Regions from separate parts of the Homo sapiens genome. Here region 2 is linked to region 1. The links are contacts of gene promoters, found by promoter capture Hi-C in human tissues and cell types (Jung and others, 2019). All regions are on one chromosome and are shown on one strand. Each heading gives the region's core, a stretch centred on a gene start or on the middle of the fragment in contact. The rest is flanking DNA. Distances are from core to core; before and after follow the strand shown.

The links. Contacts are between HindIII fragments. The study calls those that stand out against the background at their distance.
Region 2: a contact is called between a fragment that was not itself captured here and the fragment with the promoter of DMXL2 in region 1, in 1 of the 25 tissues and cell types used here (lymphoblastoid cells).

The regions. Positions count from the first base shown.
Region 1 is chr15:51,620,317-51,625,911 of GRCh38, forward strand. It overlaps DMXL2 (Dmx like 2), which reads right to left and starts at 2,455. Exons shown (of 44, transcript NM_001378457.1): 1 at 2,143-2,455. The coding sequence starts at 2,229. LOC105370816 (a long non-coding RNA gene) reads right to left here. Exons shown (of 5, transcript XR_932236.3): 4 at 4,859-4,970; 5 at 4,368-4,509. RefSeq lists an enhancer at 1,593-2,002 and a silencer at 2,373-2,592. The HindIII fragment of the contact is 6,819 bases long and covers 684-5,595 here.
Region 2 is chr15:52,174,451-52,179,761 of GRCh38, forward strand. All of the region lies in intron 3 of GNB5 (G protein subunit beta 5), which reads right to left. Among named protein-coding and RNA genes, the nearest start is that of CERNA1, 2.9 kb to the right of the region's middle. RefSeq lists a silencer at 4,987-5,311. The HindIII fragment of the contact is 3,781 bases long and covers 1,989-5,311 here.

The DNA of each region.
Region 1 (5,595 bases), core at 1,205-3,704:
CAAAAGACCAAAATAACAGTGTCACAGGCAGGCATCCTAAACCACGTAAATTTTGAGTCGAATTTGGAAACCCAAAAGGACTGTCTTGTTGCAACATAAAAATGCAGTTTAGAGTAAGAAGATCAGTATGTAACAGAGGGGCCAAAGTGAGGAGTACATATAATTAAAAATAAAGTCAAAGATGGAGAATACTTGACAAGTTTACATTTCCTAACACAGCTATTAAAAACAATTACATATTCTTAAGCCAAGAGTAATATAGTAAAATGACACTTGAAGAAAATTATCCTAGCAGCGGTGTGGAGGATGAAGAAGTTATCGGACATGACAGTTTTGAAAGCTTTTATATTAATACCAATAAGATTGTAAAATAAGGTGGTGGTTAAGGATATGAAAAGGAGTAAATCTGGTAGACAGTGCAGAGTCAACTAGACTTCGTGAAACGCTGAATTAGGGAAGTGCAAGAAGATTTGAAAATGACTCTAAGCATCTGGTCACAAGTGGCCTACAGCATAACCACACCTGCACAGCACTAACAGTTCTTACACAGGCTTTTCCAGGCTGCATCTGAACCCGTTTATTTAGTTCTACATACCAGACCTGCCGTGAGACAGCACTCCACTTTAGATGGAAGCAGAAAACTACCACCACCATTCTAGCAGGAAAATATAACCAAAGATTCCAGCTTTGTTTCTTGATGAAAGAGGCCCACTCTTCTAACCCTGAGGAACTTCCTATCTGCACTACTGGGGAACAGGGAAATTTCTTCTCTCTATCCCCAAAAACCAAGATTCTCCACACACTTGAAGACAAAGCTCAGCTCTATATGAATATTTTAAGTCACATGTACATAAAACACAGATGACAAAAGGGGTCGTTCTAAACTGGAGCTAGGCCAAGTGGATTACACTAAAAAATTAAAATGGCTAAAAAGCAATCTTCTGGGGTTAATGTATCACAAAACGTCAAAAAATAAATTCTGTTCCAGAATGCACTGCTACATAATGATTCTGCAGTTTTGCTGAAGCTTTATTTTCCGCAGTTTTAAAAACACTGTTGGAAAGCAGACATCAAAGGGTTTTCCTTGTCTAAAAAGCATACCATTACGGAATTTCCAGTTTTATCAAGAAGAACAGTTTACAAAATATATTTAATAAAGGTCTGGCTGCCTACAGTTCCTTATAAGGAAGACCATGTATAAATTTCATTCTTTAAAAAAGAACTCAATTTATGGGAGTCTATCTATGAGTAAACGAAGCTCCAAGGCTTGGTTTAAACATTTCCACTCTCAAAAAGGACTGATGAGTCCAATCTCCTTGAGAAACATGTCTACTTCATCTAGCTTTTAAGGAGATTCTAAAACGTTATGTATACATACACTTTTCTCAAACAAGCACTGTTGTAAATTTTTCACATTGCCTTACTATATTAAAAAAAAGGCTACCTTACAGATTAAAATATTATCTAGGAGGATTACCAAACTACGACCTCCTGATAAATGAGACAGCTCTCCAAGCCACTGTGACTCTAACCTTTCCATTCTAAATCTTTCGGGCGCGGAGGATGAATTTTTCTATCTTTTTGTTGGAATTAAGATCCTGCATTATCAGGAGATACAGAGTCAGGCTTAAAGCCACAGACTCCAGCAGCTCCTCGCTGCCCTAGCACAGCGGGCAGGGGGAGCCAAGGCGCAGCATCGCCTCCACGCTCCGAGACCAACACCAAGTCTCTTCACCTCCACGCTCCGAGACCAACACCAAGTCTCTTCGCCTCCACGCCGAGAGCAGCTGCGAAACGGACGCTCTGGGGTTTCAGCCGCACCACCACTTTCCTCCACCGCAGACCGAAGGGCCGCCCTAGGAGGAGCCTTCTAGTCCAGTCACCTCAGGCCCGTTTGCTTGGGGTGGAGAGTGCGGTGGATTCCTAAGCCTTTCCCCTAACGGGTGATTTCCTACACCAGACGCAGGACCCACGGTCCCACGGGTCCCAGGGGGAACTAAACCCCAAGGCTGCAAAGGGGCCACGGGTGGGGCCCACCAACATCTCACAGCCTCCTGAGGAGGCGTGCGCCCTGGACAGGAGGTCCCTGCCCCCGCGTCTGGCCCCTGGTATCTTCCCCTAGGGCTCCCGGCCGCCGCTCACCGTGAAGGGGACATCCCCGACGCTGCCCACGGAGTAGCAGTTGTCTCCAGGGTTGACAGCTCCGGTGAGGACCTGATGCAGATGCATCTCCGGAGCCCGGGCTGGACAGAATGCGCGGGAGGTGCGACAAGCTCCGCGCCTGACCCTCCTCGGGCTGCGAGAGCCGTTTCCCTCTGTGCCTCCCTCGGAAACCCGCCCCGCGGAGGCTCTGGCTTAACTCCTCGCCCCCCTTTCGCCTTCCCTCCGCCTCGTCCCTGCCATGGGAGCTCCTCGACCGCCGCCGCCGCCCGGGTCGCCGCTCAGCTGCGGAAATGCCCGGATGTTCCCACTGCCTGCTGCACCGGCGCACAAATGCGGGAGGGCAAGGGTGCTTGTGAGGCGGGGGAGGGCACCGGGGGGAACGCGCGAGCCGGGAGCGTGCAGCAAGGGAGCGGGCCAGCGCGCGCGCCCACCGCGGGGGAGCGAGGTAGAGCCCTCCCCCCGCGGCAAAGCTCTCAGCTCAGTCTTTCTTCCCCCCATCACCCGCGTTTGCGCGTGCGCGCGCCGTGGTTTCCAGGGCAATTGCGCGCGCCACGCCGACCCGCCGTCCCGTGATTGCGCGCGCAGACGTGCGGGAGTTCCCTTGGAGCCTCCCGGGCTGTAGCCGCTGCGGACTGGGGCGGAGGTGGGGGCGGGGGCGAGTGGGGTGCAGGTCGCTCGGGGCCACGCAGCAGTCGGACGCCGGGGACGCGCCACGAGCCGGTTTTGCTGTGTTGAACGTATTCCAGAATACAGTGTGCAATGGTCAGTGCCGTTGACCTCAGAAGGACACCCGTCACCGGGAATTTCCACCTGGAGATATCTTAGATATCTTCAGTCTTTTCGAAAGTGCAGTACATAAGATATTTTATTTTACATAAACAATGTAGGCATCTTGCAACTATTTAGAGAAGCCATACTCCCCTGAAAGCTAATTATTTTGCTCCCACCTTTTGTCACGGTTATTCTAGACAGCAAAAAGCCGCCTTAGAGACGGGTGACTCCTTTCGACTTTTTTTCATGAGTAATTTCATGAATTAGCAGAATCGCCTGATTTTCCAAACTATCTGCTAAACTTTGAATGGTTGATAACAAGGATCATCAGCTCCCTGCCACAGGCCAATTCATGGCAAATGTTCTAACCCATACTATGCTTAAATCACAGGGTAAGGAAGTAGGGGACACCAAGACATAACTATCTGTAAAACCAGGCAGAACGCCAAAGGTGGTGTGATTGAGATATAAAAGTCTTTATGCACCACAGAAGAGGAAGAAGAATGTTGACTAAGGGCGTGGATAAGGCATTATGGAGACATAACCTGACATAAACGCTGAGTTTAATTTTGACAGGCTGAGATAGACAAGAAATGCTGCAAATACAGTACAGAAAATAGAGGGGGTGTTGAAGGTACAAAGATTAATGTTTGAGGCAGATGATTTATAGGGTAGGGAAAGTAAATAATACTTAGCAAGAGATCAAGGTATCCAAGTGGTCTAACTCTTGGCCTACCAAAACATATTATGGAGAGTCTTGAATGCTCCAAGAAGCCCAGATTTCACTCTGCATGCAGTGGGGGTATATCAGATGTTTCTGAGCAAAAATTTATATAATCAGAGCTGCTTTGGGAAGATGACTTTGTAGCATTTTGAAGCATAAAGGGAAGGGTGGGGAAGATTGGAGGCAAAGATCTGTCAGTCGTTGGTAATCTTTTCAGTAGAAAGTTGCAGGAGGAATGAAAAATAATACCTAATGACCTGCGGCATTCTCTCTCTTTCTCTCTCTCCCCCCTCCCTCCCCTTCCCTCCCCCCCCCTTCCTCCCTTCCCCCGCGCCATATCCAAGGGTTCCTTTTTGTTACTACTAGATTCTAGATGAGTCTCTTAATCTTTGACCTTCACTGCATTAGAAACCAAGTCAAAACTATCATCAAACAACAAATTGTACTCAGGTTTCCAAGAGTGTTACTAATTCACATTATTTAAACCATTTCACATTTGGCTCTTGTTTTACAGCATTCCATGAAGTTTTGGCCCATTCACACAGTTGTGAAGTTGTGAGCCTCTTTCTTCCTCTCGGTATCAAACTCAAAATCTGAAGCCTGTATCCACCTGTTCTCTTCCCTCATGAATCCTTTAAATGGCTTCTTGATAGCTGTATCTTAAGGTTGCAAATGACTAATTAAGTCTCCTGGAATTACAGCTGAGCCTTTTATTGTCCAATCTGATCAGTCAAAACTCACTCCAGACTAATATGGCAAGTTTCCTTGGTAGCCCACCAGGGCAGCTAGACCACACTTTTGACTGTCCACAATTTCATCTCTTCCTTGTTCATGCAAATTTTTTCATGGACCTAAAAACAAATTGGAAATTCTTTCTTCTAATTTTGGAAAGGGCTTTCTTTTAAAAATTAGAAAAAGTAGCAGTTTTGTATCATTAACAAAATATGCTAATCGAATTGTAAGATATAATTTATCATGTCCACAACTCTTTTTTTTTTCTTTTTGCTTTGATTTGAGATCCCAACACAACTCTTAATAGTACCTTTGGGGTTGGGTTTAATGGCCCATTGAATGTGTGCCATTAAATGTGGGACTTAGTTTCCCAGCAGTATCACCTACCGATGTGTACTAGTTATCAATTACTGTGCAATAAATTACCCCAAAATTTATCAGCCAAAAATAACAGTAGAGATTCATTACCTCACAGTTTCTGTGAATCAATAATTTAGTAGTAGCTTAGCAGGAAAGTTCTGGTTCAGAGTCTTTCATGAGATGGCAATCAAAATGTCAGCTACATGCTAAATAAAAGAAGCTGGACACAAAAGACCACATAATTCGTTTGTATGAAATCATTTGTATGAAATTTTCTGAAAAGACAAATCTACAGTCACAGAAAATAGGTTAGTGGTTGCCTGGGGCTGAAGGTGGAACTGAGAGTGACTGCTAATGGATATGAGGTTTCTTTTTGGCATGAGATAAACATTCTAAAATTAGATTGTGGTCATGGTTGGGCAGTTCTGTAAAATTACTAGAAATCATTGAATTGTATACTTGAAATTAGTGAATTGTATGGTAATTAAATTATACTTTCAATAAAGCTATCTAAAAAAGAAATAGCCAGGGATACAGTCATCTGAAGTCTTGACTGAAGTTAAAGGCCCTGCTTCCAAGATGGCAGGCTCTCATGGCTAGCAAGTTGAGCCTAATAGATAGATGGAGGCCTCAGTTCCTATGTGTTCCTCTCCATAGTGCTGTGTGAGTGTCCTCAAGACACGGCGGCTGACTGCTCCAGCAGCAAGTGATCCAAGAGAGAGACCAAGGTAGAAACTGCAATGTCTTTTATAAACTAGCCTTAGAAGTCACACGCCATCATTTCCACCATATTTTATTGGGTGCACAGGCCAGCTATAACTTAGTGTGGGAGACTATTTCCCAAG
Region 2 (5,311 bases), core at 2,629-5,128, 560 kb after region 1:
TGTGGGAGGAAGGGGAAAATGGGGCTTGGGGCTGTGGAGTTTGATGTGAGCTGGCTTCCCATCAGAGGACCCATATAAGCTATTAATACTTCCTATATTTAATGTTGGCCAAGGGTCTGGCTTGGGGATGAGGGCCAAAGGGATGGAGGTGAAGAACTCAGTGTCTGAAGAGAGGAAACCATTTTTTCCTCAAAGTTTATGCTATACAATTTTAATATGTTGCCTTAAGCTACCTTAAGGCAAGAATTTGGGCAAGTCCAAGCCAATAGGAGGTAACAACTATCCTGGTTTGCCTAGGGCCGCAGGGTCTCCTGGGGTGCAGGACTTTCCATTTTAAAACCTAGGGTCTGGCTAGGCACGGTGGCACACGCCTGTAATCCCAGAACTTTGGGAGGCTGAGGCGGGTGGATCACCTAAAGTCAGGAGTTCGAGACCAGCTTGGCCAACATAGCAAAACCCCATCTCTCCTAAAAATACAAAAATTAGCTGGGCGAGATGGTGTGTGCCTGCTACTAGTGGGGCCGAGGGAGGAGAATTGCTTGAACCTGGAATGCGGAGGTTGCAGCGAGCCGAGATCGTGCCACCGCACTCCAGCCTGGGTAACAGAGCAAGACTCTGTCTCAAAAACAAACAAACAAACAAACACACATACCTAGGGTCCCAGGCAAACTGGGATGAGTTGATTACCTTAGCTGATAGCCTAAAGGGGTCTCCCTGACTAGGGCAGAGGCTACTGGGCCACCTATATAGCAACACTAAAATGCAAAAATGTACAGGCATCTAACACATGTTGCTCTGGGGAATAAACCATACCCCTCTGGTGTCAGCCGCATACCCTAATTTGGTACTATAAAACTCATGTGTCTGGCCACACATTCCCAATTCACAGGAAACCATCCTTGGATTCCAAAATGGGAAATATCTGCAGAGGTCATCACGAAGCAGGGGCTGGGAATCTCAGCTGGGCAAGAAACAAGGCCTGTGTGTGTCAGAAACAAATCTGTCAGGCCAGGCACATTAGCTCACGCCTGTAATCCCAGCACTTTGGGAGGCTGAGGCGGGCAGATCACCTGAGGTCAGGAGTTCAAGAACAGCCCGTCCAACATGGTGAAACCCGGTCTCCACTAAAAATACAAAAATTAGCCAGGCATGGTGGCACATGCCTGTAGTCTCAGCTACTTGGGAGGCTGAGGCAGGAGAATCGCTTGAACCTGGGTGGTGGAACTTACAGTGAGCTGAGATTGTGCCACTGGACTCTAGCCTGGGCGACAGAGTGAGACTCCGTCTCAAAAAACAAACAAACAAACAAACAAAAAACGGCCAGGCGCAGTGGGTCACACCTGTAATCCCAGCACTTTGGGAGGCCAAGGTGGACGGATCACAAGGTCAGGAGTTCGAGACCAGCCTGGTTAACACAGTGAAACTCTGTCTCTACTAAAAATACAAAAATTAGCCAGGTGTGATGGCATGTGCCTGTAATCCCAGCTACTCAGGAGGCTGAGGCAGGAGAACTGCTTGAACCCAGGAGGTGGAGGTTGTAGCGAGCTGAGATCATGCCATTGCACTCCAGCCTGGGCAACAGAGCCAGACTCCATCTCAAAAAAAAACAAAACAAAACAAACAAACAAACAAAAACATCTGTTAACTAAGGGGCTGCCAGTCACCATAAGAGATACAGGAAAGTGCATGCTGCCAGCCCCTGCTCTGGGGAGTGAACAGATTCAGTTTATGGTCCTCCCCAGCCTCACCAGACCCTTCCCACCTTCCCCCAGGCTCTCAGCCACTTGCTCAATGGGGAGCCCTGCAAAGAAAGCTGCATCATTCCTAAACTGAATCCTGGCCCAATCACTAACCAGCTGCATGACCCTGAAGGAATTATTCGACTTTGCTAAGCCTGCTCGCTCATCGCACAGATGGGGATGATACCACTTTCCTTCATACAGGGAAAAATGACAGCACTGTTGTTTGCACCTGGCAGGGCTCTAGCTTATACTTCCACAAGTAAAACTCATCAGCATCCTTTCCTCCCTTTCCCACCTGAGTGCCAAGGGACAAACACACTTAGGAAGGAGCTGGGCGAGTCTGGGCTGGGGTAAGGTAAGAGCGGCTGCAGGGTCAACTATGGGACCAAGACAAGCTCAGAAATCATCTCTCGCTCTTCCACCTTCAGCTGTAACTTCCATTAGGAGCTGGCAAGTGGCACGCAAGGTAGGCTCTCTGATAAGAGGGAAAGAGACATTTGTCAAGAACTCTTACCCCAGGTCACTTACCTCTCACACTTCATTTCCCTCCCTCAAGCTGTCTTGTTCTGCCACAAAACATGGCAGGCAGAGTGAGCCCAGTAAAGCAATCAGATCCATCCTCTCTCTCAAAACCCTCCAAGGGTTTCCCAACTCACTGGGAGTAAGAGCCCAAATCTTCACTGCACCCATGGGGTCCTGCATGAGCTCCCAGCATAACCTGCAGCTGGACTCTGCCCTGCATACTCCCCTCCAGACACACCTGCCTCCTCACTCTTCCTCAGATACATCAGATACACCAAACACACCCCCTCCTGGGGCCTCTGCCTAGCTCCTCCTTTTTTTTTTTTTTTTTTTTTTTTGAGACGGAGTCTCGCTCTGTCGCCCAGGCTGGAGTGCAGTGGCAAGATCTCGGCTCACTGCAACCTCCAACTCCCTGGTTTAAGCTATTCTCCTGCCTCAGCCTCCCAAGTAGCTGAGATTACAGGCACCTGCCACCATGCCCAACTAATTTTTGTATTTTTAGTAGAGACGGGGTTTCACCATGTTGGCCAGGATGGTCTCAATCTCCTGACCTCATGATCCACCCGCCTTGGCCTCCCAAAGTGCTGGGATTACAGGCGTGAGCCACCCTGTCGGTCCGAGACCCTGTCTCTTAAAAATAAAGATGAATAAAGAAAAGAATGGCTGAGTGCGGTGGCTCACACCTGTAATCCCAGTACTTTTGGAGGCTCAGGCGGGCAGATCACTTGAGGTCAGGAGTTCGAGACCAGCCTGGCCAACATGGTGAAGCCTACTAAAAATACAAAAATTACTTGGGTGTGGTGGCACATGCCTATAGTCCCAGCTACTTGGGAGGCTGAGGCAGGAGAAACACTTGAACCTGGGAGGTGGAGGTTGCAGTAAGCCAAGACTGTGCCATTGTACTCCAGCCTGGGTGACAGAGGGAGACTCCGTGTCAAAAAAAAAAAAAAAAGAAAAGAAAAGTAGAGAAATGAGAGAACCTGGCTGGGAGATCAGGAGACATGTCAAAGGGGAAGAGGTCAATACAGTGATAAGAACCTTCAAGAAGCAAAGGCTTTATGCGGGGTAGAAGAGAAGTGGTCTGGAAGCTGCAGGGGAATCAAGAGGGACACAACCACATGACTTCTGGTCTTTCCAGCTCACAAATTCTGACATATGCAGGTAGGGATAGACCCTTCCACTGTGGGTCTAAAATCTGGCCCTAGCTTTTGAGGGCACCACACTCTTGGCAGGACAAAAAAAAGTTTCTTCTTTTGGATTGACTACATTTGCCCCCTGAGGTTCCCTTTGAAAAGCTGCATCTCTGCTCTCTGTCTTAAGGCAACTTACAAATTCACAGAAAACCTGAAAATATCCAGGCATGCAGCCTGCACTATTGAATAAGTGAGTTTCTGGAGAACGCCCTCTGCATGAAGCTCAAAACGGGTTTGGCGAAAATAATCTGAAGTGAGCCTGAGCTGGCACTCTGATTGCCTGGGGGGAATCCGGGTCCCAACACTTAGCAGGGGACCTTCGGTAAGTCCTTTAATTCTTTGTGCCTCAGTTTCCTCATCTGTCAAATGGAGAAATTAGATGACCTATGAATACTTTTCACCATGTTGGCCAGGCTGGTCTCAAACTGGGAGAAGGATTTCTGGGAAAACTTTTGCTTTGCTTTCTTGATAGGGAGCAAAGAGAGATTGGTGTCCATATTCCCCCTTCTTCCTGCCTTGGATACAGAAGTGATGTTTGGAGCTGTGGCAATCATATTATAATCATGGGGCAAATGCCACTGCTCTAAGGTGTGGAGAAGAAAGGCAGAAGGAGCCTGGGTCCCTTGGTGGGGGGTGCATGGTGCAGCTGAACAACAGCAGGTGATCATCCACCTTTGCTCTTGTTATGTAAGAAAAGTAACTCTCAATTTGCATAACTACATTATTTGGGGTTTACAGTTAGTGATTGCTGGACAGGATTTCTAAGCTTAGAGTGCCTCCTATTTAAAGAAGACCCCTAGGAAAGCACAGCACACGCTAGATCCAGGTCATCCACTTCTCTTAAGTGATCTTCAGAGATCAAAAGGTAAAGGCCCTAGCACGAACCCCATTTTTCCATTCCACATAGAATGTAAAGGGTGGCATCGATTAGGAATGGCAGGAGAACAACGTCAAGGTGTGCAGGAGGGCACCGTGGGAGGTGCTCAGCAAAGGGGAGATGCCACCCTCAGAGCTCAAAAGTGAGCAGATACAACCACTTCCCCAAGCCTGGCCCCCAGCCCAAGCTCTGCTGAGGAGGAGCCCTCTGACAAAGTAAAGGAACGCTGTTTTGGCCAAGAGCCGCTGAACCTGGCTATTTAATCGCTCACTCATAAAAATCACAGAGCCAGTTCTGAATTACGGTGGTGGTGGTGAAGAATGCAAGTTTAAGATCGCTATGGCTTTTTTATGCCAATCCACCACATCGATCCAAAAGCTTTTTAAACAGCCTTAAACGAACTGAACGGTTGAATTTAGTGAGCTCCTCCGTTTCCCTTCTCTCTCCGTCATCCAGCTCCCCGCCCCAAGGATAGGGGAGAGGTTGGAAAAATGAGCTTTGAAATTGCAGTCTCATAAAAGCAAAACTGAGAAAAGATACAACAGTGATGGAGAAAGCCAGACGGGCATTAAAAAACAAAACAGGAGTCTCTCCTAGGCCGCGCCTACACGGGCTCGCCGCGCTCGCTCGTCACCACCGACACCCCACCCCCTGCCCTCCGCATGGGAGGGGCAAGAACGCGATCCGTTCGCAGCTTCCAGGCAGGTGATGAGGATAGCTAGTCCCGCGGTCCTCCGCTAGCTGGCGGCGGGGGTCGGCCAGGTGCCCGGACCCTCCGAGGGCCCCACCGCCGCGCGTCCCGGGGATCGGGACCGCTACCCGCGCCTCACCTGCGCGCCCGGGCCCCAGGGCCCTGCTCCCGGGCGGTGGCGCGGGCCTGGCTCCCGTCGCAGCCACGACCGCCCCCACCGCCCCCGCCGTCCCCGCCCGGGAAGTGGCGAGCCGGTCCGGCTTGCCCCGCCCGCCTCCCGGCCCGC